Regions from separate parts of the Homo sapiens genome. Here regions 1, 2, 3, 4, 5 and 6 are each linked to region 7. Evidence: promoter capture Hi-C in 16 types of primary human blood cells and fetal thymus (Javierre and others, 2016). All regions are on one chromosome and are shown on one strand. Each heading gives the region's core, a stretch centred on a gene start or on the middle of the fragment in contact. The rest is flanking DNA. Distances are from core to core; before and after follow the strand shown. Region 1 overlaps ARMC8 (armadillo repeat containing 8). Region 2 has its middle 110 kb from the start of SLC25A36. Region 3 overlaps SLC25A36 (solute carrier family 25 member 36). Region 4 overlaps ARMC8 (armadillo repeat containing 8). Region 5 has its middle 84 kb from the start of SLC25A36. Region 6 overlaps ARMC8 (armadillo repeat containing 8). Region 7 holds the start of COPB2 (coat protein complex I subunit beta 2).

The links. The method cuts DNA at HindIII sites, captures the fragments that hold promoters and counts their contacts. A CHiCAGO score of 5 or more calls a contact.
Region 1: a fragment that was not itself captured here is called in contact with the fragment with the promoter of COPB2 in region 7 in 1 of 17 cell types (naive CD8 T cells); the score reaches 5.3 in naive CD8 T cells.
Region 2: a fragment that was not itself captured here is called in contact with the fragment with the promoter of COPB2 in region 7 in 1 of 17 cell types (total B cells); the score reaches 6.9 in total B cells.
Region 3: a contact is called between a fragment that was not itself captured here and the fragment with the promoter of COPB2 in region 7, in 3 of 17 cell types (naive B cells, naive CD4 T cells and total B cells). The highest score is 6.9, in naive B cells.
Region 4: a contact is called between a fragment that was not itself captured here and the fragment with the promoter of COPB2 in region 7, in 1 of 17 cell types (total CD8 T cells). The highest score is 5.2, in total CD8 T cells.
Region 5: a fragment that was not itself captured here is called in contact with the fragment with the promoter of COPB2 in region 7 in 4 of 17 cell types (total B cells, naive B cells, naive CD4 T cells and 1 more); the score reaches 11.4 in total B cells.
Region 6: a fragment that was not itself captured here is called in contact with the fragment with the promoter of COPB2 in region 7 in 3 of 17 cell types (total CD8 T cells, megakaryocytes and naive CD8 T cells); the score reaches 5.3 in total CD8 T cells.

What each region holds. Positions count from the first base shown.
Region 1 is chr3:138,207,878-138,211,898 of GRCh38, forward strand. ARMC8 (armadillo repeat containing 8) reads left to right here. Exons shown (of 22, transcript NM_001363941.2): 2 at 1,940-2,016. Among named protein-coding and RNA genes, the nearest start is that of ARMC8, 23 kb to the left of the region's middle. The HindIII fragment of the contact is 3,133 bases long and covers 1,161-4,021 here.
Region 2 is chr3:140,827,451-140,831,236 of GRCh38, forward strand. No RefSeq gene overlaps it. Among named protein-coding and RNA genes, the nearest start is that of SLC25A36, 110 kb to the right of the region's middle. The HindIII fragment of the contact is 1,270 bases long and covers 1,743-3,012 here.
Region 3 is chr3:140,959,811-140,963,841 of GRCh38, forward strand. It overlaps SLC25A36 (solute carrier family 25 member 36), which reads left to right. Exons shown (of 7, transcript NM_001104647.3): 4 at 3,317-3,417. Among named protein-coding and RNA genes, the nearest start is that of SLC25A36, 20 kb to the left of the region's middle. The HindIII fragment of the contact is 5,552 bases long and covers 1-4,031 here.
Region 4 is chr3:138,258,323-138,261,988 of GRCh38, forward strand. All of the region lies in intron 12 of ARMC8 (armadillo repeat containing 8), which reads left to right. It also overlaps a transcript of NME9 not described here. Among named protein-coding and RNA genes, the nearest start is that of NME9, 70 kb to the right of the region's middle. The HindIII fragment of the contact is 1,145 bases long and covers 1,101-2,245 here.
Region 5 is chr3:140,856,006-140,859,963 of GRCh38, forward strand. No RefSeq gene overlaps it. Among named protein-coding and RNA genes, the nearest start is that of SLC25A36, 84 kb to the right of the region's middle. The HindIII fragment of the contact is 1,493 bases long and covers 568-2,060 here.
Region 6 is chr3:138,239,231-138,243,418 of GRCh38, forward strand. It overlaps ARMC8 (armadillo repeat containing 8), which reads left to right. Exons shown (of 22, transcript NM_001363941.2): 10 at 238-298; 11 at 2,553-2,753. Among named protein-coding and RNA genes, the nearest start is that of ARMC8, 54 kb to the left of the region's middle. The HindIII fragment of the contact is 1,100 bases long and covers 1,404-2,503 here.
Region 7 is chr3:139,387,939-139,391,959 of GRCh38, forward strand. It overlaps COPB2 (coat protein complex I subunit beta 2), which reads right to left and starts at 1,709. Exons shown (of 22, transcript NM_004766.3): 1 at 1,610-1,709. The coding sequence starts at 1,612. COPB2-DT (COPB2 divergent transcript) reads left to right here and starts at 1,865. Exons shown (of 5, transcript NR_121609.1): 1 at 1,865-1,995. It also overlaps the pseudogene LOC124906339. RefSeq lists enhancers at 1,387-1,636, 1,433-1,994, 1,927-2,226, 1,995-2,557, 2,437-2,546. The HindIII fragment of the contact is 7,530 bases long and covers 1-4,021 here.

The sequences.
Region 1 (4,021 bases), core at 1,477-3,976, 1.2 Mb before region 7:
TTAATGGTACCCTGGTGGGCACAAGAATTTTCACCACTTTTGCCTCTTTGCTTCCACTGTTTGTTCTTTAAAAATGAAGTACATGCTAAAAGCAAGCATTTGAGCTGGATGTAGTGGCACATACCTGTAGTCAAGTTACTTGGGAGGCTGAGATGAGAGTATTCCTTGAGCCCAGGAGTTTGAGATCGGCCTGGGCAAGACGGCATCTCTGTTTTTTTTTTTTTGTTGTTGTTGTTGTTTTAAAGGAGGTATTTGAGTTGCCTTTGAGGATATTTTGGTAGCAAATTCAGAATACGAAAATATGTGTTGGCTGGGCACAGTGGCTCATGCCTGTAATCCCAGCACTTTGGGAGGCCAAGGCGGGCGGATCACGAGGTCAGGGGTTCAAGACCAGCCTGGCCAACATGGTGAAACCCCATCTCTACTAAAAATACAAAAATTAGCTGGATGTGGTGGTGCGCGCCTGTAATCCCAGCTACTCAGGAGGCTGAGGCAGGAGAATTGCTTGAACCCGAGAGGCGGAGGTTGCAAGTGAGCCAAGATCATGCTGCTGGACTCTAGCCTGGGCAACAGAGCGAGACTTCGTCTCAGGGGAGGGGGGAAGAAAATATATGTTGACTTAGTTAACTATATTATCAGAAAACTAGAGTTTGTGTAGTTCTCCAGAGTTATTTTTGGTGGCTCAAAAGTTTTAAGCTGGTACTGTGTCTTGGTAATTAACTTTTACTGATTTGGAGTTCTGAGTAAATTGGAAAAGTTATTTCTTCCTCCCTATAAGAACTTATTGCTAACGGCGGGGGAGTATATAAAGATATTTCAGCAGGCATCAGAAAAAACAAGCAGGGGACAAAACTTTTTCTCTGGTTCTTAAATATGGATTCTTTATTTTAAATAATATGAAGCATCAAAAATTAAATATTAAAAAAGAGTTACCCTCCAAAATAAGTATTACAAGAAATAACACAATAGAAAAACTTCACAATACAAATGAAAAGGAGGTAAGTGTCTTCCCTTTGTACTCTTTCTAATTCTACCCACCCTTATCCAGTTCAGTTGAGACAGCTTGGGTGGCCTACAGATCACTCTAATTCTTAATTGTTTTCCTTCACAGAAAGTGTGACAACTCCTTTATTTATTTTTACTTCTGCCTCCAGCAATGAAGCTTCTCTACATTAGTCTAAGGATTTCCTCTTGTACCTAGACTACCCCTTACAGACTGTTTCATGGAGTCCTCACTCTTCCCTGGCTGAGAGCCAGATTTTGTCCTTTTGTGTATACTAATTTATAGAAGTAATATTCCTATCTATTAATTATACGTACATGACACCCAGCAGTTAGTGAAGAAACTTAGCTTGCTGCTAAGTGTATATGCTAACATATTTGCCTAGGTCTTCTGTTGGCAAAACTTCTAGGGCTCGCCACAAAGGTCCCACTGTCTAGCTATGTGTTTAGTGAGAACTAGGAGTCTTCTTTCTTTTCTGTCTTACTGTTTATCTTTGTCATGAGCTTTTTTTCAGACTAATGTAATAAAGTATTTACAAAAATATACTTAATATCTTCCTGATGATTCTTCTGAATGAACAAAGTGATGTGCTTTGTAATTACGTTGATTTTCCAAACTCTCCTGCTAGTTTTAAGACATAGTAAAATGTATACCATGGACATTCTTACTTTTGAAATTGGGCATTCTTAGAAGAAAAATATTGATCTTTGACATCTTGAACTGAACACTACAGTTTCCCATTATTTTGATACCTGAGAGAGAAAAGTCACCTGCTTAAGTATCCCATATCATGAGGAGGCAAAACTAAGTATTTCATATAAATTTTAATGCATCTACCTTAAGTTAAATTATCTAGTCACTTGATATTGTGGGTGATGCTGTGAATTTGTGATTTGCATGGCTTCAGATGTCATAATTTTTCCCCCCACTTTCTAGGAAGTAACAGCTAGCAGTCGCCACTATGTTGACAGGCTATTTGACCCTGATCCCCAGAAAGTTCTACAAGGTGTCATGTAAGTAGTATGTATTTAAGAGTCTATCAAAAAGTTGTTTGTTTTCATGTTTTAATCTGCCACATATTTTAATTTTGAAAATACAGGGTTATACCTTTTTTCTTTCATTTGGCTTCTTTCTAGAAAGACTGCTTGACATTCATGACGTTTAATATTTTACCATAAAGAATTGTCTTTTGAATAGTTGTTAACTGACATGGTTAGCTTCATTTTTTGTAGAATACTTGTTTCACATTAAAAAAATGTTTTCTTTGGAGAATGCTTTTGCTTCTTTAATATCCACAAAAGCAGGAGAATAAGATTGATGGTCTTTCATAATTGGAATGCAGTGAAAGAATAGACCAGTAGGGTTTTTTGTTTTGCTTTGTTTTGTTTTTGGTTAACTCATTAACTGTCACCAAGATTGAGTCTCCTGTTGATGTTTTAAATTTCGAATTTAGAAAGCTGTCAGAAAATTTAAACTCTTAATAACCATAATGCCTTTTTTTCTCCAAAATTTCATGTTTAATGAGAGGAAACATTTTTAAGCAACATACCAGAGGTAATTATGCTCTTAAAAAATTAAGAGAAGCAAGTAGGATAAGATTTCAGATTTATTCCCTTTCCTTTGAGTTTCAGATTATCATACTCTTAGCGCATTAGTTCTAAGGAGGAAGGTCTAGACTAAGGCTTATCATGGGGTTGGGAAATGTGAAGGATCCACAGGCCTGAACTGTGTCTATGGGAAGAAAGACACAAAAAAGGGTCAAGATACATTTGGGTAATGATGAGGGCGCCCATGAGGGAGGCCTCTTTCTTTTTCTCTAATCCCATAAGCATTGTCAGCCAAATAGTACTTTAACTTGTGCTTAGCCATGGCAAGGCTGGGATGCTTTGTTTATACAAGTTTCTTCGGACTGCAGTTCTTAAAGCCTCTCTCCCCAAAGGCATTGTAGGCTTTGGAGTTGTGAATTTATAAAGGGAGGTAAAATAAAAGTGCTGTAAAACTGCTTGGCTATTCAAATTGAGCTGGAAGGGAAGGTGGGAAGCTGGTTAGGATCCACCGAGATACTTGACGCTTATTTTCACGGCTTCTCAGTTTACAAAAAACGGTGGTATTTCTGGTGTTCTCATTATGTTAACTTTGCCTTTGTTCCCTTAAGTAGGAGACTTTATAATTATTTAATCACTCCTTTTTAGACTAGTTTAATTATTACCAGGAAAAATGGTTTATTAAATCCATCTATTAAATAAATCAGTTTGGGTTGTACCTACACACACAAGTTCGTCAAGGGGGCAGGTTTTACTTAACACTCTTCCTTAGACAGATACTCTCCACATATAACCAGATAGCTCCGTATATAGATAATTCTAAGTATTACTTAAAATTACTCAATAAATGGTTGAGAATGTTAGACTTATTAAGTGTTCAATAAATGGTATTAAAAGATGATATCACTGCTACTATGTTTAGGAGAAAGCTGTTTAGTAATCAAGAATTCTGTGTGATAGACTGGTAGAGTTCTATCTGATATGAGTAGCTGATTCGAATGTTGTCACTTTGAGAAATTTTTTACTTACCAAAGAACACTAGTTTCTCAAAAATTGATAAAATACCAAATGATAAAAGTGGGAAAGATAGAATTATGACAAAGCAGCTAAAATGTAGTTTGATAGCCTTAGTGTCTTTTGAAAAACTACCAGTTTGAGACCTAATTAGCTGTCAGCTAGACATAAAGAAATGTTTGTGTGAAGGAATGGTAGAGTAGAAGGAGCGTGGGGTTTGGAGTTGGACCATAGTGGTTTGAATTCCTAATTCTGACATTTTCTGTTATGGTCCCTTTCTAGTGGTGTGCTTGGACAAGTTTTGTAATTTCATTGAGCCTCAATTTCATCATCTGTAAAGATAACACTGCCCATATTGCCAGGTTGATGTGAGAATTAAATCAGAATTATAAAATTCAATGTCTGATACGTTGTGGATCAGTTGGCACTTAAGTGGTTAGTTGTTATTAGCTCCAATTTA
Region 2 (3,786 bases), core at 1,128-3,627, 1.4 Mb after region 7:
AGAAATTGAACCAACTCAAGAAGGGAACATAAAATACATGCTAATGCGCCCCCAGTTGCACAATTGCAGCAGATGAATGCCTAGCAGATGGCGGGCATTCATAGCAGGAAAGCCAGCATGAGTAAAGGCCTAGAGGCTGAAGTGAGGTGGCAGAGTAGAAGACAGTGAGAAGGACAGCTGCCCAGACGCATATAATCCAATATTTCCAAACATCTTCCAGTTCCACAATGGCCATGCCCCTCCATGCTCTCATGACCATTGAGCCTTTCTGCATGCAGGTCCCTCTGCCTGGAACTCCTTCCCCTCCTCTCTGTCTGGCTACCTCCTAGTGCACTAGAGTTCTGGTATGTCAGCTGACTCACCTCCACACCAAATCCTTATGTGTTGATCTTAACAAACCTTTAAATGCTTGTGTGTCTTTCCTATAACCTTCTAGCATGTCTCCACTGATAGTTAAAGGAAGTTGAAGATGAATTTGTGATAAATACATTTGGCCATCCTTTGGGGTTCTGCCCCCACCATGGGAAATACCCTAACTCCATGTCTGCCTTGTAGAGCTGTGGTCAGAAGTCATCTACTGGCAGGATATCTCTGTCCTCCAGACATGAAACAGGGCAATGGGCTTCAGTACCATCCTGGGAATTCTTCAAAAATGTCTCCTCCCATGTGGGTTTAATAAGCCCAAGATCTGATTCACCCTGGTAAATGCTATCCTGAAGCATTCTGACTGAGCTATTTTTAAATTCATGCCCACTTCCCTCAAGAGGCCCTTCGTACTACCCCACAGTCATGCCTTCCCTCCAAGCTGGTCTCTCTCAATCTCCTAGACCACCTCATCCCTTCTCTCCACCCACAACTTTATCACCTCCTCCCCATCCCCATGCTCAGATGAGGACCCAGCTGCTCACTTCACTGAGAAACGTAAAGCCATCAGAGGAGAACTCCTGCACTGCACACCCCAAAGCCACCCACCCACCTGCCCTCCTGTTGCAGGAATGAGCTATTCCTACTCCTGTCCACTGGCTGTGGGATTTCATGCCTCTCACCTGCTAAGGCCATCATCCCTGCAGTTGTCACTCCCACTGGCACCATTGCTTTCCCTCTCTACTAAATGATGCCCATAAACATGTTGCTTTTCTCTCATCTGGGAAATGTCCTCCCTTGACCCCACTTTCCCTACCAACTATAGGCTCATCTCTCTGCCCCTCTTTGTGGCACAACTCCATGGAAGAGGTGACTCCATAGCCATTCTCCACTTCCCTCCTCTCATCCTCTCTGGGCCCATCCTATCAGCCTTTGGACCCATCACTCCATCAAACCTACTGCGACAGGGTTATCAGTGACCTCTGGTCTTTGCACCATTGACCTCTCAGCAGCATTTGACAGAGGTGGTCATTTCCTCCTCTTTGAAATGCTTGCTTGGCTTCCAGGGCAGCACACACTGCTTATTTTTTCTACCTCTCTGGCTGCACCCTCCCAACCTCCTTTGCAGGATCCTTCTCATCTCCCCAACTTCTAAGCAAGGAGGCCCCCCAGCTTCATCCCTCAGCCCTTATCTATTCTATCTTTAGAGTCCCCCACTTGCTGATCAATCTGTCTCACGGCTTTAAATAACAACTCCCAAACACTCCCTTGAAATCCAGGCTTGTATGATGATCTGCCTACGTGAAATCTCCACTTGAATGATAGCCAGGCATAACAAACTTAACATATTTTTGCTCCCCAAAACCTGTTCTTTTTGAAGCTTTTCCCATCTCAATTAATGACAAATCTGTTTTATCAGTGACTTAGAACAAAATCCTTTCAGTGATCATTGACCCCTTTCTTCTCTCACACCCGCATCCAAGTCATCAGCAAACCTATCCATTCTATCTTGTATGTATATCCAGAATCCTGCCACTTCCCATGCTTCCACCATAGCAAGCCACCACCATCTCTTGCCTGAACCATTGCAATAGCCTCCTTATTGACCTCCTTCATTATTGATCTTGCCCCTCTACTGTCATATCTCGACACAGCAGCTCTTAAATGTAAACCTTGCCATGGGGACAGAAACTCCACAACTTTATCCACTTCTGCTCTCCTCCTTGAGCTCTCATCACCTGGCCTTTCTGCAGTTCCTTGAACACACCTAGCACACTTCTTCCAAGAAACCTTTGCTCTAGTTGTGCTCTTTGCCTAGAGTGCTGCTCCCCTCCCCAGAAAGCCACATCGCACTCTTTTCATCAGTTCTTGCTCAAATATCACCTCAGCAGAGAAACCCAGACCACCCTATTTAAAATAGTGTATACCCACACACACATACAAGAACACATATTCTATCACTTTACTCTGCTATTTTTTCCATAGCACCTAACATATTATCTATTTTTGTTTATTTATTTGTTCTCTGCCCATCCCTACTAGAATGCAAGCTCCATGACAGCAAGTGCTTTGCCTATTTGGCTTACAGCTGAATCCACACAGCGCAGAACACTGTTTGGATACTAGAACTTCCCAAGAAATATTTACTGATTGAACAAATATATTAATTTCTTGTGTATGCTGGTGGTGGCAGCCAAAGTCAGCCAAGAACCTTAAAGTGCCTGGCAGCTTCCCAGAGCAAACAGAGGTACCCTCAACAGGCTTGGGAAGGATAAAGAACATCTCCACTCATACTTCTGGTCTCAGTTTGTATGTCATTTCTTTTCTGATGCCCTCCTCCCCTCAATAATTTAAAGAAACCTCTCTGTTAGAAATAGAGGATGCTATGCTCATATTTATTGTAATTTCTTCTTAATTGTCCTCCTTATAAGGCTGTATATTTTCTGAGGATGCATATGGAATTCTCAATAAATACCTGTCGAATGAATAAATGAATGAAGTTGAGTGAGCCGTGCATGGCATGAAGCTGTAACTAGGGGGGCTGAGCTTGGCGTCAAGGAAGAGGATAAATTAAAAGGAGAAGGAAGGGGTCATAAGTTTATAATATTATTTTATAATAAGGAAGGAGGAAGAGGAAAGGGAGGAGGAAGCTTGGTTTTATCTCCCTGCCAAATCTTGGCAAACTAACTTTGGCCCTAGAAGTATCTGCACACACAACCTAGCTGGCACAATGTAGTCAAATGACTTTATTGGTGTAGCCTATAGGACCTGCCTGTCCAGCTTTATTGCGTTATTCACTTTTCACCTTCCTTGTGATGAGTTCCTATGGGAATTCTCTTCCTCTAGGCAAGGTGTCCCCAGAGGGGAATGAAATTGATATCAGATGGAGCCTGGAAGGGTGAAAAAGTACACAGCAAGAGGCTCTTGCCTGTTCTGTGGTTCTGCTAGCTACTTCCAAGCCTCTTTTCTTGTATTTATTCACTGCTTATCTAACCTCATTTTTCTCATGCAATATATACCCTACATTGGGAAATGTACCCTGTCCCACCTCTCTAAAGCCTTTCCACCAATAAGGCTCAACACAGGCCCGACTTCTATAGGGACTTTACTCCAGCCAGTACATATCTTTTCTTTCTCTAACCTTGTTGGCATTTATTTTAAAATACATTCTATGAATAATTTCTTAGTATATTCTATTGGTATGCATATAGTAAATGCTAGATAAACAATAGCTATTAGCATCAAAATCATGCTGTTAGTATTCTAACAAACAGTAGGCTCATCAAGAGTAGGAATCATAAGTTTTCTTCCTTTCATACACCCCAGAGAACTTACCCCAGGGCTGTGCAGATACTAAGTGTCCAGAAAACACTTCTCCAAATATGTACTGTCTATAAAAGTTATTGTTGTAGAGTGAAACCA
Region 3 (4,031 bases), core at 476-2,975, 1.6 Mb after region 7:
ATATGAATACAAAGGCTATGTTTCATAATGTGAGGGAGAAGGTATAGTATTTGCATTAAATTATTGATAGTCTTATACTGGGGGAAAATAATAAAGTATCGCATATTATACCTAGAAGTTTAAGGAACAGTGTATTTATAGATAAGAGTTTTAAATGTTAAAATTCTATAAATGGACCTGAGATTTTTTTGGGGGAGATGTTGTAATCAAAGTTGAAAATAATGAATATATTATATATCTTTATATTGCATAGACTAGGAGATATAAAATTACTAATATTTGCAGGATAAATGGAAATACTCTCGTAGCTAGTGGCAGTGTATTGAGTCTTCTGGGGAGATGCTTATCCTCTCATCTGACCATAGGAGTTAGAAGAATTTGGGGGTGCAGAATTGAAAATCTACACAGGGCTAAGGCTGCAAAATACTCCTGATATTTTGAGATAAGTGTTTGCTAGATTTGTGAGTTTAACTAAACCAGCTCTTGCATCTTGAAAAATTTTGACTCTAAGAAAGGTAAGCATTCTTTTAAACAAAATATTTTCCTTGGGCCAAAAGGCATTTAGGATATCTCGACTTTTTCTGCTTTTCATAGCTGTCCTGCTGTGCGCTCCACCTGAAGTTAGTGTTCCTTTCTCACTTTCCACATAGAAATTAAACTTCAAAGAAACAAGATAGAAAATAGAACCAAAGGACTAGGAAGGATGTCAGGGCTTAGAACAGGGTTGAAGAAAGGGACAAAAAGTCTAAAAACCTGAGAATTTGTGTATCGTTGAAGGGCAGTAAGTGATGTACATGGCCTTTACCATAATAAAAAGGAAGCTATTCAAGGAAGATGCTGAAGAGGTGTCAAGGTGATAAGGATAAAGAACTATGGTGTGACAAACAGGTATCAGTAACCATCTAAAAGGATGGGCATGGCACCATGTGTAGGTGCAAAGGACCACATAGTAAGACCATTGTGAAGTAGTTTTTAAAAAAGTCAAAAGACAGAGAACAAGCAAAGGAACTAATAACTAAAGGAACAACCAAAGGAACTAGCAGTTAGAAAGGGGAAGATCTGGAACTCTTAAAACTAAGTCATTGTTTGGCTTATGGGACAAACCAAACAGATAGAATGGTTGCAGTCCCTATTAAGCCAAAAGGACATGAAAACATAACTTCGTCATTTTTCTCTGACACCATTGCATCTTAGATTGTTAACCTCTTCCATGATAGAACACTGTATAAAGTTCATATTTAGAGTGAAAATGCTTTCTGTATCCAAACCATGTACCAGATCCATGTCTTGTTATTTATTACGTTTCAACTTTTTATGGGTTCTTTTCTCTCTTTAAGAAAATATCCAAAATTGCATCCTAATTATAAAACAAGTTAAAAGAAAAAAAACACCATTAATAGACAGTTCATGTATATTCTTCCAGTAATTTTTCTCGGTTATCATATACATAAAAACATGTATACTTTATTGTGCTTTACATAAACTGAATAATACTAAATGTTTAACCTAATCTAACTGAAGTTTTTCCATGATAATATGTGGGGTGATTTTTTTAAAATTGTATAGCATTCTAGCACTAATAAACATTTCCTTATTATACATTTAGATTATTTTTAGATTTTCATTGTATAAACAATGGTTCAGTAAACATACCTCAACCTTTATCTTTGAATACTTTAGGAAGTATATTTTTTTAGGATGGTCACCTAAAATTAGAATTTCTGGATAAAAGGGCATATGCATATTTAAGACTAGTGAATATTGACCGGGCAGAGTGGCTCACACCTGTAATCCCAGCACTTTGGGAGGCCAAGGCGGGTGGATCACAAGGTCAGGAGATCGAGACCATCCTGGCTAACACAGTGAAACCCCATCTCTACTAAAAATATAAAAAAATTAGCCGGGTGTGGTGGCGGTCGCCTGTAGTCCCAGCTGCTCAGGAGGCTGAGGCAGGAGAATGGCGTGAACCCGGGAGGCGGAGCTTGCAGTGAGCCAATATAGGGCCACTGCACTCCGGCCTGGGCAAAAGAGCGAGGCTCCGTCTCAAAAAAAAAAAAAAAAAAAAAAAAAAAAAAGGCATACTGGATTTTTATCCCTTATCCATAGCCTTACCAATGCTGGCTACTGTCCATCTTTTTTAAATACTTACCAAATGGACTAAGAGGGATTTTTCACTGTTTTAATATGATTTATTTAATTTTTGGTGCAGTCATACTTTCTTGTAATTTGTCATTTGTATATCTCTCCTGTGAATTGCCTATATATATTTCATGGCCATTTTCTCATTAGGATTTCTTTTTTTCTTACCAGTTTCTAGAAATGCATTGTTTATTCCTCTTCCCAACTTGGCATCAAGTGTATCTTATGTTTTTCTTTCTCATAAATTAGAATGTTTCATTTTCAGTTATATTAATTTTCCTTTTTTCTTAAGTACATTAAAAAAGGTACAACAGTGAAATTCTCATTTGTATTTGTCACTCTGTTTCTTATTGGATGAGTAATCAGGATTTTTGGGGAAATAACTGGATATTTCATACAGCAAGCAAATAATTCAAAGCATGGGAAGTTAACATAGAGGTGGTAGTGGGGATGCATAAAATCGTAGTCAGTAAGTTAACAATGAGGGAAATAATTAAATTTCACTCAGTGTTTACAAACATTGGAAAACATTCTGACCTGATGGGTCTGATTTCTTTTGTTGGAATTGTTTTGTCTGTTTAAGGATAATGTGAATTACTGTGTGTGTAGTATAATTAGAATATACCACAGTATCTTAAAATTGTTTAGCATATACTTTAATCAGTTGGATCTGCTTCACCCTCTTCTCCCCATGAAGAAAATTATATGTTAAGTGCTCATACCATATCTACTTATCTTCAGTAACTATATTTAGCCTTAGCATTACACCAGCCTTACAGCCTTATTCATTCATTTAGTTTCTAAACATTAAAATCTTAAATACTTTTTGTTTAAATTAGTTATTATTTTGTTTTTATTTTTTTTTAATTTCATTTTTTCTTTTTATCTTCTTGGTTACCAAGTTTTAGTGAGTTAAGTGGCTGTCAGAGTATTGGAAGGGGGTCTGTTTGAGGATGAATGGTAGGAATTTTACATTTGATGTTGTCTTATTTTAATGAGTCAATACAGAAAGTACTTCAGAGTATTTATGAAAAGTGTAAATCTAATGTTACATGAGAATGTGGCTAGGACTTTATGGTTTTTAAATTTCTCCATTCTAAAATTATGAAGATCAATTTATATGTAAATCTTACGCATTAAGAACATGCTTATTGATAAATCTAAATCTCTATTTTAGAGCAATATACTTTGCTGCTTATTCAAACTGCAAGGAAAAGTTGAATGATGTATTTGATCCTGATTCTACCCAAGTACATATGATTTCAGCTGCAATGGCAGGTATGAATGTATAATATTAAAAAAAAAAAAAACTTTCTGAAACCTAGAGGCTTAATATTGAATTATAAGTTTGTAGTGAAAAGTTGATGATTAATGTGCTTTTCATTGATTAGATGATTTTTACGTTTATCGATATAAACCAAATTAGGTATATGTAAAATCTGTCATCAGTTGACATTTTTGTAGTCAGGAGTTTACATGCTAGGGTACAAGTAATATATTTATATTGCCTTGTGTAGTCCACTGAATGTTTAGTGATCATTGTTAACAGTTTTAAGAATCCAACCATAATTACACTATAAATAAGTTATGGAGCTGTAATTTACTCTTCTCTCCTCAATTTCTGTTAGTGCCTTTTCCCTTTTTGCTGCATGTTTTGGCTTCTGTCTGAAATGTGTCGGCAATTCTTGGTAAAGTATTCATTTTGTCCTGTGCTCAAATGCTGAAATTTTTGTGAGTGATGTATTATTATTGACAATTCAGTTACTATGTGTATTTTTTAAAATTGTTTATTATTCTACATAATTCACACTAGACAGCACCTGAAATTTAGACACTGGCTATGTGTACATGCTTACTATAGAAATGTTTCCAGGAACTCTCTGTTTCTGTCA
Region 4 (3,666 bases), core at 423-2,922, 1.1 Mb before region 7:
AATAAAGCTGGAAGAATAGTTTGTCTTGTTTTTTCAAAGACCATATCTCTGACTCTTAGTTCTTCATGTGCTCAGAGGAAAAGATGGCTTATGTCCTGGCCACAACTAAATTTTGGATCTACTAAAGGTCATGGAGGGCTGGGAAGTTCCCTTGTAGCCAAAGGCCCATTTTCAAGTTGTTGGAGTTCCTGTGTATACCATAAACCACCACCTTAGTATTATCTGGATTCTGCATTTTCCCCATGATCCTCTGGACTGAGTGCCCCTCTTTCCCACTGGTCATAAAAGTCTTGTCCCGATTACAGGGGGCTCAGATCCTGTTCTAATAGATCCTTATCCACTCCTGCAAGAGCAGCAATGCAAGAGACAGTTTCGCAAAAGCATGTCATAAAAGCTAAAGACACCAGCAGGGAGGTACACAATACCTGATCCATTGACCTAAAGCGGTCAGTTGAGGATGCAACATTTTTTGTGTTACTTAATTCTGTAGTTTACAGCCCAGGCCCCTAGAAAAGCCTAGGAAGAAAGATGGCCTCCTCCACTCTGAGGATTCAGTCTACTACAAGTACCCCTTCTGGCTGGGCACAGTGTCTGTGTAACAGAGGGCACTGTCTCTTTTTCTTTTTTAGCAGATCCAACCAGCTATGCCACAGGGCATATTTGCTGAGCTATGGCCGAGGAGTCTCCAACAAGAACCATGAGGGAGAACAACTTTCAGCTTTACTTGGCATTGCTCTTACATCCTGGAAGGACCTAAGATGCTTTTGCAGGGTGCTAGGACTTGGCACCCTCCATCATATCAAGGCTGTGGAGCACGGTACTGGGGTCGTTAAAAGGCACCACGGAGGACATGTTTTATTGCTCTTGGTTTTCCAATCCCATGTTTGAAAAGCTGTCTGGTGCACTGTTAAACCTTCATATGGGTCAGAGGGCTGTGGCAGCAGCCACTACCAGCTCCTTCCCTGCTGACCTGAAAATTTTTTCTCTGGACTGGATTCCAAACCTTTTCCTGTCTGTGATCACATTTTTGTCCTCATTTTTGTCAGTGTATTCACTATAGTGCCCTTTGTATCCATACACAGACGGTCTCCATGCCCTCAAGCTTGCAAAACCCTGGTTAGATCATATTGTCCATACCCTTTTGGAATTCAAAGTTTACATTCTAATTTTATATTGTTTTTCACTCTCACTCCCAGACTGATGTCTTGATGGAGAAGGTGGACCAGAGATTCAAGCATGCTTTCTAGAACCCTAGCAGGGTTACTGAATTATCTCCATTACAAGTTCAGTTACAGATTCAGGCCTTCTGCTATAGACATTCTGTTAGACTATGATCTAAGAAGGGTCAACTTGTGCCTGAGGGGAAGATACCTCCAGATAGTTTTATGTCCTGACTTGGAAAGCGTTTACCAGCCACCTTATAGCTATACTCTGTCTCCAAAGTATCAGGGACCATACACCCCTAGAAACTTTAAAAGAAAGCGCAAAGCTACACTCTTAATGTTACAGTGATTGAGCCCTAATGTTTTTCCACTGTCCTAGATTGTAAAATTCCTGTTCTTGAGAAAAGATGTCTTCCTACCTTCCCTTTGTAGATACTTGTTTCAGTGTGTGGCCCCATGGTCCCTGTCATTCCCAAGGTGTTCTTTCTACCATGAAATCAAGCACCATAGCACTGAAACACTTAAATTATGTTTGCTTATTCAATACTGTGAGTTTGGTAGAAGCAAGGGCTTTCTCTTCCTCACCGTTTTGTTTTTGAGTTTCAAAACCATGCCTGTCACTCTCTGGGCACTCAGATATTTGCTGAATACATAATTATAGAAATGCAAGTAGGAATTGCGCTGTTTGCTTTTCCTTGCCTTCTCCTTTAGCACTCTAAGTAGACCTGAACCATTCTCCAGCCTCTCCTCACCCGCCTTCTTCCCAAGTTCCTTCTAAACAACATGGTAGTTTTGTCCAGACTGACTAACATGATCCTTATTCACCTGCTGATTACAAAAGATTGGAGATAAAATAATCATTACTGTATCTCCTCATTTTACTGAAGGCCCAGAGAGGTAAATTGCCCAAGATTATACAGCATATCCACTCCATAACATTCCATTTCCCCTGCTTCACCCACTAGGCTGGCTACCTACTCATTTTATTTCTGATCATCACCCTATTCCCTTTCCACAGGTTCTTTCATATCAGCCTTCCAGACTTTGGGAAGAGGCTACCGTCTGGACTTTAGCCCATACTAAGCTTGTAGAATTTTCTGTCACATCTCTTGTGTGGAATTAGGCTTTTTCTTGGTGCTAAGCAACTTCAGGGATTTGTGACCTATGGCTATACTGAGATATACTTTATTAAATGCCTATGATTGCTACATCATTCTGGTTCTTTGGTAGATTTACATCTTTGATTGAATGTAGCCAGGAAACCTTATCTAGAAACCTCTTTCAAGTCTTGGCCACACCCAGGGCAAGCATCTGGAGCCAATGCTAATAGTATTTCTCAGTTCTTTCTGGAGAGTAACCATGTGTTCAATCCATCCGTACTTCTACCACCACCACATTCTCTGATGATGTAACTATATCCAGTACAGGCAGTTGTTTCTCCCAAGTTATCACTTCTCATTCTTAAGTAAAAATAATTTCCCAAGCCAGAAGGATCTTTCAGGCATAAGCATCTAGTCCTCCACTGCCTGAAACTTTTGCCCTAGGCTTTTGTTTCCTTCCCATATTGAAGGTACTGATTTGGCCTTGTCTGTTTCAAGAACAGTGACTAGTGCATGATTGAACTAACCCAGCCAGTCTTTGATGGTTGCTGTAGCACAGAAGATTAGGTAATTTGGAAAACACACTACTATGACCCCCAAGGTAATAGTAATAAGGTCCCAACTAGTTTAATGGAATGCGAAAGGAATGAATATAAGGTATAGTGCTAAGTAAATTGTTTTGGTTTTGTGTGGTAAGGGAGGAAGAGTTGGGGTCAAAATTAGCACAAATGTAGGGCCTGGGTGGCTGGGAGAATGTTAAAATACCGTTAGCAAAAACAGAAAGACACAGAGAACAAGCAGGTTTAGCCAAGGCTAGGGGGTGGGAGGACAAATTCAGTATGAGGCGTAATAGATGGGAAGTTCCACTGAACATCCATGTCATATTTATTAGGCAATCAGAAGTATGGAGCTAGAGGTCAGGAAAGAACTCTAGGACAGAACTTTAGAAAATTTCCAATACTGAGTTGGTTTTTAAGTCACAGTATTGTTATATATAAGAGATGGAGATGGACAGAGCCTTTATTGTATATATGCCCATTTAAAGATGGAAAGTGGGGAGAGGACTAGCTTCAAGAGGTTAAAGTTTGGACACTTAAACGTCTTTTAAACAGGATTGAAAATGAGAGGTAGGACAGAGTAAAGATGTGAGAACATTATGGAAAGGTAGTTTTTGGATCAAGGTAGATAGGCTTTGAGCTTGAAGTACCCAACCTTGACAAGAGTAAAGAAAACAGCAAAAGCATGGAGACCTTTCGTCAGAAGTGGGAAGTTGCAATGTGTGTCCCCAAAATCAAGGTCCCTACGAAGATGAGGTGGGCACAGAGTGGCTGCGAGCATGAGGGAGGCAGAAGAATTTGAAGTAAGAGGTAGCTACCATAAGGAACATGGGCATCTCCAGGGGG
Region 5 (3,958 bases), core at 64-2,563, 1.5 Mb after region 7:
TTGGCTGTGTCCCCACCCAAATCTCATCTTAAATTTTAGCTCCCATAATTCCCACTTGTCATGGGAGGGACCCAGTGGGAGGTAATTAAATCGTGGATGCGGGTTTGACCATGCTGTTCTTGTAGTAGTGAATAAGTCTCACAAAATCTGATGGTTTTATAAAGGACAGTTCTCCTACACAAGCTCTCTTTTTGCCTGCCGCCATGTAAGACATGGTTTTGATTCTCCTTGCTTCCTGCTATGATTGTGAGGCCTCCCCAGCCATATGGAACTGTGATTCAATTAAACGTCTTTCCTTTATAAATTACCCAGTTTCAGCTATATCTTTATTAGCAGCATGAGAACAAACTAATACAATTTCATTCTTTTTACTATTATATTATCTGAATCAGGCTAGATTTGAATTTGTTAGCATAGCACTAGATCAAGCAACGTTAATGATCACTTCTTGTATAGCTACTCCATCTTGTGTGATGGGGCAAAGGTCATCAGTGGAAGGGAGTCCTCTAAGCATCTGGGTCAACTTTGTGTGAAGGTGGAAGCGGCAGAGAAGTTGCCAGGATGAGAAGCTTCTGCAGATACCCTTCAAACCTCTCCAAGTAACCTCTCTCTCCCACTGTTGATGGCTTTCTCTACACCAGGACATAAGTCTTTCCTTCTGCAATTAGAGAAGGCAGGTTACTTAAATTCATATGTTAAATTATTCATTGAGAGCAAGTTGTGATGGAAGCGTGGGAGGAAAAATTGAGTACTCCATTTGTACAGTCTCCAAATAAGGTACATGCATTCATTGCCTTTTTACAGTCTCACAAGCCTACGAGGTAGGAGTGTTGATGTTCCCATTTTACAGACAAAGACCCTAGAGCTTAGAAGTGCTGAGTGACTCCCTCTAGTTGCCATGGCTAATAGAGTAGGGATTTGAAGCCAAGCAGCATGAATTCAGTTGTAATGCTCTTAGCCACTGTGCTAGGAACTTGATAAATGGATTGGAAACCATGCCCTACGCAAATAGTAAATGCAATTTGGTCCAGTCCAGGCTGGGAGTGCATGTGCTGAAAAGGTGCAAGATAAGCATGCTGAGGCTGATTGATAGGGCTTTCTCAATTGCCTATTCCTACATTCTGTGTCTGCTTCCACACTGGTGACCCCCAACCCTGGGAAATGCTTTTCACACCTATTCATTAGAATATCATTCAAATTTACAACTACTGAGGTCACCTAGCAATTTACAATTGCTTTGTCTGCCTAGCTTGAGCCTGCTCAGAAACAGCTCTTCCTCATCCTACTCAGATGCCCTGTAAGGCCTCCTCCCTGCCCTACAGAGCAGAAAGTAATGAGGTTAGTGTATGCATTCTCCAAAATTCATATTTTTTGCTAACTCCCAAGGTGATGGTATTAGGAGATAGGGTGTCTTAGTTCATTTGGGGCTGCTATCACAGAATGCCTGAAACTGGATAATTGATAAAGAACAGAAATTTATCTCTCACAATTCTGGAGACTGAGATGTCCAAAACCCAGGGGACAGCAGATACTATGTCTGGTAAGGGCTTGCTCTTTGCTCCAAAGATGGCACCTTGTCACTGTACCCCCTCATGGCAGAAGGATGAACACTATACTCTCACAAGGCAGAAGGAATGAAAGGGCTAGGCAGCTCTCTGAAATCTTTACAAGGACATTAATTCCATTCACAAGGAAAGAGCCCTCATGACTTAATCACTTCCCCCAAAGGCCCCACCTCTCAATACCATCATCTTGGGGTTTAAGTTCCAATATATAAATTTTGGAGGGACACATACAATTCAACTCATAGCAACTGGTATTATCCACTTCACATCCACTAGGATAATTGTAATAAGAACATCATATAATAACGAGTGTTGGATGTCGAGAAATCAGAATCTTCATTTGTTGCTACTGGAAACATAAAAATGACACAGCCACTTTGGAAAACAGTGTGGCAGTTTGCCAAAAGTTAAACATAGAGTTATCATTTGATTCAAAAATTCCCCTTCTAGGTATATTATATCCTAAAGAAATAAAAACATACATGTCCACAAAAAAGCTTGAATGCTTATGTTCAGGGCATTATTCATAATAGCTAAAAAGTGGGAACAATCCAAATGCCCATCAAGTGATGAGTGCATAAATGTGGTATATTCATAGGATGGAAATTTATTTTGTCATAAAAAAAGAATGAAATACTCATGCTACAACATGCATGAATCTTCAAAACATTATGCAAAGTGAAAGAAGACAGTCACATTTATGATTTCATTTACGTGAAATGTCCAGAAGAGGTAAATCTATAAAGATAGAAAGCAGAATAGTGCTTGCCGAGGGCTAGAGAGATTGGAAAGTGACAGCTACAGGGTACAGTGTTTCTTTGGGAAATGATTAGACTGTTGCAAAATTTATTGTGATGATGGTTGCATACTTCTGTGAATATACTAAAAACCACTGACTTGTACACTTTAAATGAATGAATTTTATGGTATGTAAATTATATTTCAATCAAGCCACTAATGAAAAAAAAAGGTGACATAATGGAAGACAACATCCAGGCAAAAACAAAAATGATTTCAGTGGATGGATTGATCTGGCCTGGAGCAGTGGTCTCATTCAGGGGTGTACCTGTTCCTGAGCACCATGAGATGGCCCCTGGGAGGTCCCAGTGCAGAGGATCCTGACCACACGTGGAGAAAACAGCCTTGCAGGTAGTCTGCTTTCAAGATCGGGGGACTGGACTCAGAGACTAAGAGGCAGGAGAATGTGAGGGAAGGAAGCTGAGCTTTAGCACCAGATGCACCCAGGCCTGATAGCTGGTGTGCATGGCAAGTCAGTTTCTTCTTTTGAGCTCCAGTTCTACTGTCTACACCCCTGTCACTTAAAGCGTGCTCCTGACCAACAAGATCAAGCTGGTAGACATGCAGAATCTTAGGCCACACCCCAGAACTACAGAATCAGAATCTGTATTTTATTGAAGTTTAGCAAGCACTGACTTACACAGTGGAAATAACAATACTTTTTTCAAAAGGACTTTGTGAAGATTCTTAACAGTAATTACTACCATTTACTTGATACTCACTATGTGCTAGATACTAGGATAATCTAGAGGAGGGGCCTAGCTTAGTGCCTGCACATAGTAAGTGCTGTGTCTGAATGTTTGTGTTCCTCCAAAATTCACCTGTTGAAACCTAAACCCCAAGGTGATGGAGGTGGGGCCTTTGGAAGGTAATTAAGTCATAAGATTGAAGCCTTATAAATGGGATTAGTGTCCCTATAAAACAGGCCCCAGAGAGCTGCCCATGCCTATCCACTATGTGAGGTCACAGCAAGCAGGCACCAACTATAAACCAACAAACAGGCACTCACCAGATATCAAGTCCAGCAGTGCCTTGACCTTGGACTTCCCAGCCTCCAGAACTACAAGAAATGAATTTCTGTGATGTTTATTTTTTATTTTTATTTTTTGTAGAGATAGGGGCTTGCTTTGTTGCCCAGGCTGGTCTTGAACTCCTGGCTTCAAGTTATCCTCCCACCTCAGCCTCCCAAAGTGCTGAGATTACAGGAATAAGGTACCATGCCTAGCCTAAACTTGTTATTTATAAGCTATCTAGCCTATGGAATTTTTTTATAGCAGCACAAATGGACTAAGACAATAAATCTTCAATATGTGGCAGCTACTGTTTAAAAGAGCCTGACTCAGGAGGAGGAAGGAGCCTGAATGTTGGAATCTGACACCACCAACCCTCACACTGTCTCTGCCGCTCTGAGACAATGAGAACTTGGGTAAGTTATTTAACCCCTCTGAGCCTTGACTCGCTGATCTGTAAACTGGGCTTACCTCACAGGGTGGTTGTGAAACTTCAGTGAGAAATCGTGTGTTCAGTGGCTGCCCTGCACCTGGCAACACAAAGGAGTCCAGCAGATATCTGGTCATTTTCTCTTCTCCCTACAA
Region 6 (4,188 bases), core at 704-3,203, 1.1 Mb before region 7:
GTTTTTGTTTCATTTTGTTTTTTTAAATATCTGGCTTACCATCTGTATTTGTCAGTTAGTTTTCTTTGACTATTAAATTGACTGAACCTCCGAAAAGCGAATTGTCAAAATCTTCACTCTCAAGATAAGTGATATTATTTGGTTTTCGATTTTTTAATAAAATCTTAAAGGCAAATAATTTTTCATTTAAAGCTTTAAACTCCAAGCAAAAACTTATTTTCTGCTGTCTTATTCCAGTTTAACTTACATGTGTAGAGCTGGAGCAATTCGGACAGATGATAACTGTATTGTATTAAAGGTAAGCTAATTAATTATCTTTAAAATGTGAAAATTATCCAGTTATGTGTTAAATATCAGTATTGATACTCATATTTCATTTTACACATTTATCATTATGATATATGTGCATGGCGTAGAATAATATTGAAAGACCATGCTTTCTTTTCAGTGGATGTCATATAGTTTTTAAAAATTGATTTTAGATGTGTTTCGAAAGTCAGCGTGAAATAATTATTTCATTGTCACAGCCTTTCATTTTATGGTAATTAGGAGGATGTGGAAATTGTAAAAGTGTACAATTCAGGTGAAACAGAAAATATATTTCGTTCTTGATTGTCATTAAATTTGTACTACAGTTTTAGAGGCAGACGATTTGCCACTTTTGCAGAAAAAGACTTTATATCATTCTCATAGCTGATAATCAAAAGGCATAATGAAAGAGAATAAGTAGATAACACATGAAAACAAGCATTGTCATTGTGATATGTCATATACAACTTGAATTTAGAAAAACCTGGAGAAAAGACCAGCCCTAAAAGTCCTAAAACCTGGATTCTGGTTTTAGCACTCCCACCTCTGACTGTACATCCTTTATTCTTTTGATGCCTCGGACTCCAGATTATGAAAATTGAAGCAATAATTCCTGCTCATCTATGCACAGGGTTATTGTGAGGATAACAATATATTAAATACATTAAAATGTCTTATTAGCTATAAAAAATTAAGTATAAGTAAATTGATGATGTGTCATTTTATAAATATGAGATCTCACATTATCATTGTTCAAAAGGTGATCCCAAGGATAAAAGAGCACAAAGAAGACTAATATTTGCTTTAGTCTTTGGGGAAGAGAATTAATTTAATGAGATCTGAACACTCCCTAAGTAAACAACTCTTCATAGAGTGCCACGGACTTCCATAGCATTTATCTTGATTTATTTACTTCTCTAACCTTCCTCTTTTTCTGCATTGGTAAAATGTTAGTAGTATATTCTTCACATAGTAGTCATGAGCATTAGATTACATAATTCATGAATTTATGGTATCAATAAATATTAGTAACTAGTAATGTTAGGGAAAAAAGAATAGGGCCTTCCCCTTGGAAACCTAGGGTTGAATTATAAAGCTTCTACTAGCCTAATAGGAAATTAGTAGTGAACGATGAAGTGCTAAGCTCTGTGGTAAAAGATATAATAGGAACTTATTATATATAAAAGAGCAAAGCACAGTTGCCTGCAGTATTTGAGGAAGACTTTCTATAATGATAACATTTCAATTTATACTTCCACATTGTCCTTTCAAGTGGATCCGTCAGGCTTAGAAATAGTAAATGTCGTTCGAGACCAGCCTGGCCAACCTGGTGAATCCCCATCTCTACTAAAAATAAAAAATTAGCCAGGAGTGGTGGTGGGTGCCTGTAATTCCAGCTACTCAGAAGGCTGAGGCAGGAGAATTGCTTGAATCCAGGAGGCAGAGGTTGCAGTGAGCCGAGATCGTGCCATTGCACTCCAGCCTGGGCGACAGAGCGAGACTCCGTCTCAAAAAAAAAGAAAAAGAAATAGTAAATGTCTGTAATATTTTTATTGAGAACCTAATGTAGATAAGTTACCAAACCATTGCCAAGATTTTTGAGGGACCTCAGAAGTAAAATTGGACTCATGGATACCACTGCTAATTCCAGCAAGTTACTGGGAAAACCTAGCAACTGTGATACATTTCAGTTGCATTATAGTAGAACTGGTGGAATCTGAGTAATGGTAAGATCACTGCAGTTTTAAAGCTGTATTTTGTTTTGGCAACTGTAGGTATGACTCCCCAAACCAAAAAATAAACGATATTACTCACTAAGGAAGAGATAGCATACTTTTCCTAAGGCAAAATCATTCCTGATTAAACTGCTGGGTCTTTTTTAGGTAAATAAATAGATAGATAGGGCAGAACCATCAGACATGATTTGTTAGGGATTCTTAAATGTCTTTTACAAAGTTGTACAATAAAACTTGTCTTATCGGTCCCAAAAGCCTAATTAGAATTTGTATTAATATACTTTGACGTACGAATAGAGTTTAATGTGCCAGTACAAATTATTAATGTGTACTGAATTTTGCTTGTTTTTGCATTTTAAAAAAATCTTTTATTCTCTAGAAGTCAGTAAAGGAAATATATGATCATAAACATTACTCCTGATAAAAGCTATTGAGTTGATTCAGTCACTATATGCTTAAGCTTTTACCTTTACCAAAAAGCAAATAATTAATCTCACTACCTTTCAGACATTACCTTGTTTGGTTCGAATGTGCAGTAAGGAGAGATTACTAGAGGAGAGAGTTGAAGGAGCTGAGACACTTGCCTATCTGATTGAACCAGATGTTGAGCTACAGAGAATCGCTAGCATAACTGATCACCTCATTGCCATGCTTGCTGATTATTTCAAGTATCCCAGCTCAGTGAGTGCCATCACTGATATTAAAAGGGTATGTTATTTTCCTTTTTTAGCAGCTCAAGGGAGATTTTTCTAAAGTTTTTCTTACTGTTCACAGTTTTGAACCAATTGATAACTACAGCTTAAAGCCCTTTTAAATAAAGGTTCTTTTATCTTTGGTAACATAGATAATATTGCTTTGTGAATTTTTGAATCCAAGTTGTTTAATGTTTATTGTCAGAAAGTTTTTACTGAGCAGATAAGCAATAAAGAAAATTGCATCCTAACTCCCCAACTAAACCTCAAAAGTAGTGGATTCTCCAAGCTGGGTATTGACATAACCGTATAATCTTATTCTTGGTCATGGAATCATCTCTGTTGTTACATTCTCATTCTTTAGGTCAGGAGTAATCTTTTTGTTACAGGAGACTAAGTTGTCCCATGTTACTTTCCACCACAGTCTATTTTGTTACCTTTCCCTATCTTCTCTTTTTCCCAGTTTCATACTGTGCTTTGGGCCTGCTAGTGACAGCTAAAGCATCATTTAATCTTGAATTTGGGACCAAAAAGGCCAAATTGTGCTTTTTCTGAAAACCTAAGTTCCTTAGAATAGATCGGTATTTATTTTGACTTGTTGCATCTCAGCCTGTTTGCCCTATCCATTTCTTTAAGCATAGGAGATGAACATTCTGTAAGAGAAAGTTTATTCAAGGAGGTCATGGTAGAGAGAACATTGCCTCTTAATTAGTAGCCAGTACTGTTTCATGAATGTAACTGTATTTTTCATGCCAGTGGTTCCAATGGTAACTATTCTCCTTTTGACCTCTCCCTCATGCTTTTGAGTTTCAAAAAACCTCATTTGGTAGGCAGTTGTTCATTTGGCTTTTAACTTTGAAAATAAAGCAAACTATTAAGGGTATATCTTTACTCTGTCTTAAGAAGGGCCTAAAATAACCTTCACTGGTATTTGTATTAGTAATGTACTCTACTCTCTGGGTATTAAACTTATGTGTCTGCTCTTCTTTCAGTAGTGGTGTTTTTCCAGTAGAAGTGATGGGTTACATACATTTAACCAGTTGCCTTGTCTGTTTTCCTTCTGGTCATTTTTTCACACTGACACTGTATCTTACCAATACAAAGATACATGAGCAACCCTTAGCTACTGCCTCATGAACGCCCTGAGTTGACCACCCCAGGAAGGCAAATAAAATGTTTTGATGGCCATGAGAGTAAGGAAACAATTTTAAGAACATGTAGCCTATGCATATGCAAATCATTTAACTAGTACGTAGATTATCCCTTCTGTTAGTTTTTCCATTTCATTTCCATCAGAGTAAAACTGTAACAACAATAATCCTTAAAAATGACATCGTAATACCAAACTTGAGTAATAGTTTGTTTTGTCATCTTTATTTTTGATGATGGATTATCCAAAGGTTTCTGACCCGAAAAGTATAGACACTAGACCCGTAAAGAGAAATCTTCAC
Region 7 (4,021 bases), core at 459-2,958:
ATTAGGCAGCCATGTTTAGCAAAGTGCATGGCAGACACTAAATATTCTATGGTAAATGTACAAATGAATGAATTCACGTTTTGTATTTTCCACAAAGGATTTAAAATATATAAAGAATGAAGGCAATATTTCATTATAGAAATACACTGGTAAATGTAAAGACGGCAAAAGAAAATGAAATTAGGCAGATCCAAGAGCCTTTTCCAAAAACGTCCATTACTGCAACCACAGCAGACCCAAACTACATCAGGTAGTTAGTAATACGAAGTGCTCTAATTAAGAGGCTTGAGGTCTTGTTCAGGGACTGTAACCTGGGTGCCCAAGAAAGTCCACGGATAGTGCTAGCTTCGGCAGCACATAGAGAGGAGATTAGCGTGGCCCCTGCGCAAGTATGACACGCAAATCCGTGAAGCGTTCCATATTTTTTATAAAACAAATTAAAAAAAAAAAGAAGGTCCATGGATTGTGGGGGGGGGTGTCTGTGAATGAATGCACTGAATTTTATGCAAAAATGTTTGTTTCTCTGTGCATTTTCCCTGGGAGTATTCCTAACTTTTTCCTAGTTCCAACTTTGCCACAATTAACCTTGTAGAAACATAATTTAAAAAAATTTTTTAACTTAAGATGAGGGACTTAATCCCTAGCGTCTTCAAGCTCCAAAATGTTTGATTCTGTGCTTCATAACAAGTTTTTTTTTTTTTTTTTTTGAGACGGAGTCTTGCTCTGTCCCAGGCTGGAGTGCAGTGGTGCGACCTCGGCTCACTGCAGCCTCTGCCTCCCGGGTTCAAGCGATTCTCCTGCCTCAGCCTCCTGAGTAGCTGGGACTACAGGGGCCCGCCACCACGCCCGGCTAATTTCTTTTTTTTTTTTTTGCATTTTCAATAGAGACGGAAGATATTCTTATACTATCGTTTTCTTTCCTTATTATTATAACACTCTTGTGCAAACTAGTCTAGGGCGTTTTTTAGGGTTACGGTGATAATAACAAAGTGCTCTAACAATTACTATTCTTACCAGCCACTGGATTTGCAAATGCATAAAAGCACACCAGCCAGTGTTATAAACAGCACCCCCTTCCTCCCAACCCTTCTTCTCCCCTTAGAAACCTAACAGCTGAGATATCAAAGCATTTGAAATTCCATTTTTGACTCCATATACATTTGTTTTTGGCTTCTTTGCTTGTTTATAGTTTGTAGCCAGCACACACTATCCCCAGAATAAGCCCAACAGGAGTGTAGATTAACTACCACCGTTTTAAAGGCAAACTTTAGTTTTACCAAAGCCTCCTACGGAGTTCAACACATTCGGCTTCTGTGTTTCCCTACACCACCGATCCCGCTGCAGACTGCAGGAGCTCTGGCAAGCGCCACAAGCGCCAGGGGAGACAAAACCCCTCACTAGCAGGCTTTGCCTCCCCAAATCACCCCGGTCCCCTAGGCCCCACCGCCTTCTCCCTTCCTGGAATCAAACGACCAAGACCCCGCAAGGCCTGAGGCGGCGGCCGCAGCGGGAGCCCAGACCACTGCTTACCGCGGCCCTCAGTCCAGAAGCTCCAGGAATCGGCCGTAACCTATGGGACCCCGCTCCCTTCTACGGGATCTGGACCTACCATGGCTGCGTCGGTCCAATCCCGGGAACCCTCGTTTGTTACCGGCTACTCAGGCCTTGAGATAAACCCACCGATCCACTGACCGTCAGACTGACTGACGTGGAACTTCCGGGAGCCGATTCTCGCGATAGTCAGAGGCCAGGGCCGGAGCGCCTGCGCAAACTGCGCGCAGGGCCGTCGTTTCCCAAGCCCCGCCCCAGTTTCCTAGGCAACGTGGCCTTCCAGACCGCTGGTAGTGGACTTGAGGCTGTCGGGAAGGAGGGGTGTGGCCTAGACCACTAAGGGCCGTGACGTGGTGCCGCTGAGCTTGGACCCCGACCAGAAGATAGAGATTGAAACGATGAGGAAAACGAAGTGCCTAATCCCCGCTGGACGCTAACTGCAGGGCAAGCTCCCCAGTGTTGTAGTTGTGTTTCGGAGGCCGAGAACCGCTATCGGGCTTCCTCGGACTCTGGCCCTGGAGGGGGGAAACGGCGAGGGAGAAGGCGAAACGAGTCTCCAGTGTGTTCTTGGGGCCTGGTGCGAGGCCCAGAGAATTCTCTGCAGGCCTTTGCCCGGGCACTGATTAAGGCTGCGAAGAGACGCACCGGGCTGCGGGCTTAGTAGCTTCAGGCTTCTGAAGTCAGAGGGAGGGCTGAGAGCTTACACTTCTGGAGCTCCCCGGGAGACGGCAACTACCCAACCGTGTGGGTGTGTTTGTGTATGTGTCTTTTGTTGAGCTTCGGCTGGCTGTGTTATTCATTCAACAAATATTTATCGATCTTCGGCAGTGTGTCAGACATACCTTCTTCTCAAATCTTCACATCAAACCTGAATTATCTCCATTTAATGATGAGGAAACTCGGGCTCAAAGAAGTTAAGTGTTCTAGCCAAGACTGCATAGTAAGTGGCAGATAAAACCTCAAAGTTGGGCCGGGCGCGGTGGCTCACGCCTGTAATCCCAGCACTTTGGGAGGCCGAAACGGGTGGATCACCTGAGGTCAGGAGTTCGAGACCAGCCTGGCCAACATGGTGAAACCCCGTCTCTATTAAAAATACAAAATTAGCCTGGCGTGGTGGCGGGCGCCTGTAATCCAAGCTGTTCCAGAGGCTGACAGGAGAATCGCTTAGAACCCAGGAGGTGGAGGTTGCAGTGAGCTGAGATCGCGCCACTGCACTCCAGCCTGGGCAACAGAGCAAGACTCTGTCTCAAAACAAAACACCTCAAAGTTTGTGCTCTTTCTACTACATAAAAATATCTCTTCATTAATGTGGCTGAATTCTAAGGGCCTGTGCCATAGGGGTTACACTACACAATAAAGTTCGAGAACATTTGCCTGTCACACGCACTGCACATCTCCTGTATTTCCTTTTTTTTTTTTTTTTTAAGAAAACATGTGGACCATAGAAAACTTGCCCTCTGGTTACACGTACAAACGTGTATTTTTAACTTGAGAGAAATCTTAAAGTCTTTTCAGACCTCCAGATTTTCAGAAAGGCAAAAAGAAAAATTATGTATTTGTGTGTGTAGATAATGATAATCAGAGGGAGATGATTTTGCACGAAATTATTTGGCTTTAGTAGGAGCCTTGAGCTAATGTGACTCTCTTCATGGGCCTCAGTTTTCATCATCTTAAAAAAAATCCAGCTACATGGTTTCTAAAGATCCTTCCATTTTTTTTTTTTTTATGTTTCTGTGGCATTCAATAGTGGAAAAAAGAGTCTGGAACTGGAGTTTAGTGCCAGCAGTGTGATCTTATGTAAATTGAGACTAATAATTCTAGTAATTGCATACTTTGCTTACTCTATGGAGTGACTGAGGATCCTGAGTTGAAAAAATTATATGAACTATACCTAATTTGCTTGAATAGTGGAACTTTCAATATTTCTAACTCCTGAATACTCTTGCACTTGAGAGAGTATTTTTGGATTTGGCACAGTACTAAGTGATACAAAATAAAATGATGTATCTCTATTGTCAAGGGGCTCAGCTGGGAATGCTTAAATCTTTGTATACCACTGGGCCACCTAAGGGTCTACCTAGCTGGTGTTGCGGGCCTGAACCCTCAAGTGTCATTCTTACTTGGACTATATCTTTTCTCATGTTTTCCACTGCAATTAGCCAAAATTAAGTCCTGCAATTGTAGACTGTAAATTCACTCTTTTAACCATTACATACTGAATGTGTACTATATACAAAGCACTATACTAGGTGCTGCCTTAAGATATTACCCATAGAATTTGGTGTTGGATTTTGGTTGAAATAAATTTTAAAGAAATAAAATTCTTAAATAGGAACTAATACATAACATTAAATATACACGTGTATTTCACTAGGCGTTCGACTGTGGGTTTAAATTAAAATCTTTTGTTTACTTGGTTTAGAGGAGACTGGAAGGTTAGGAAAAATAACCGTTGGGAAGAAAAGAAATA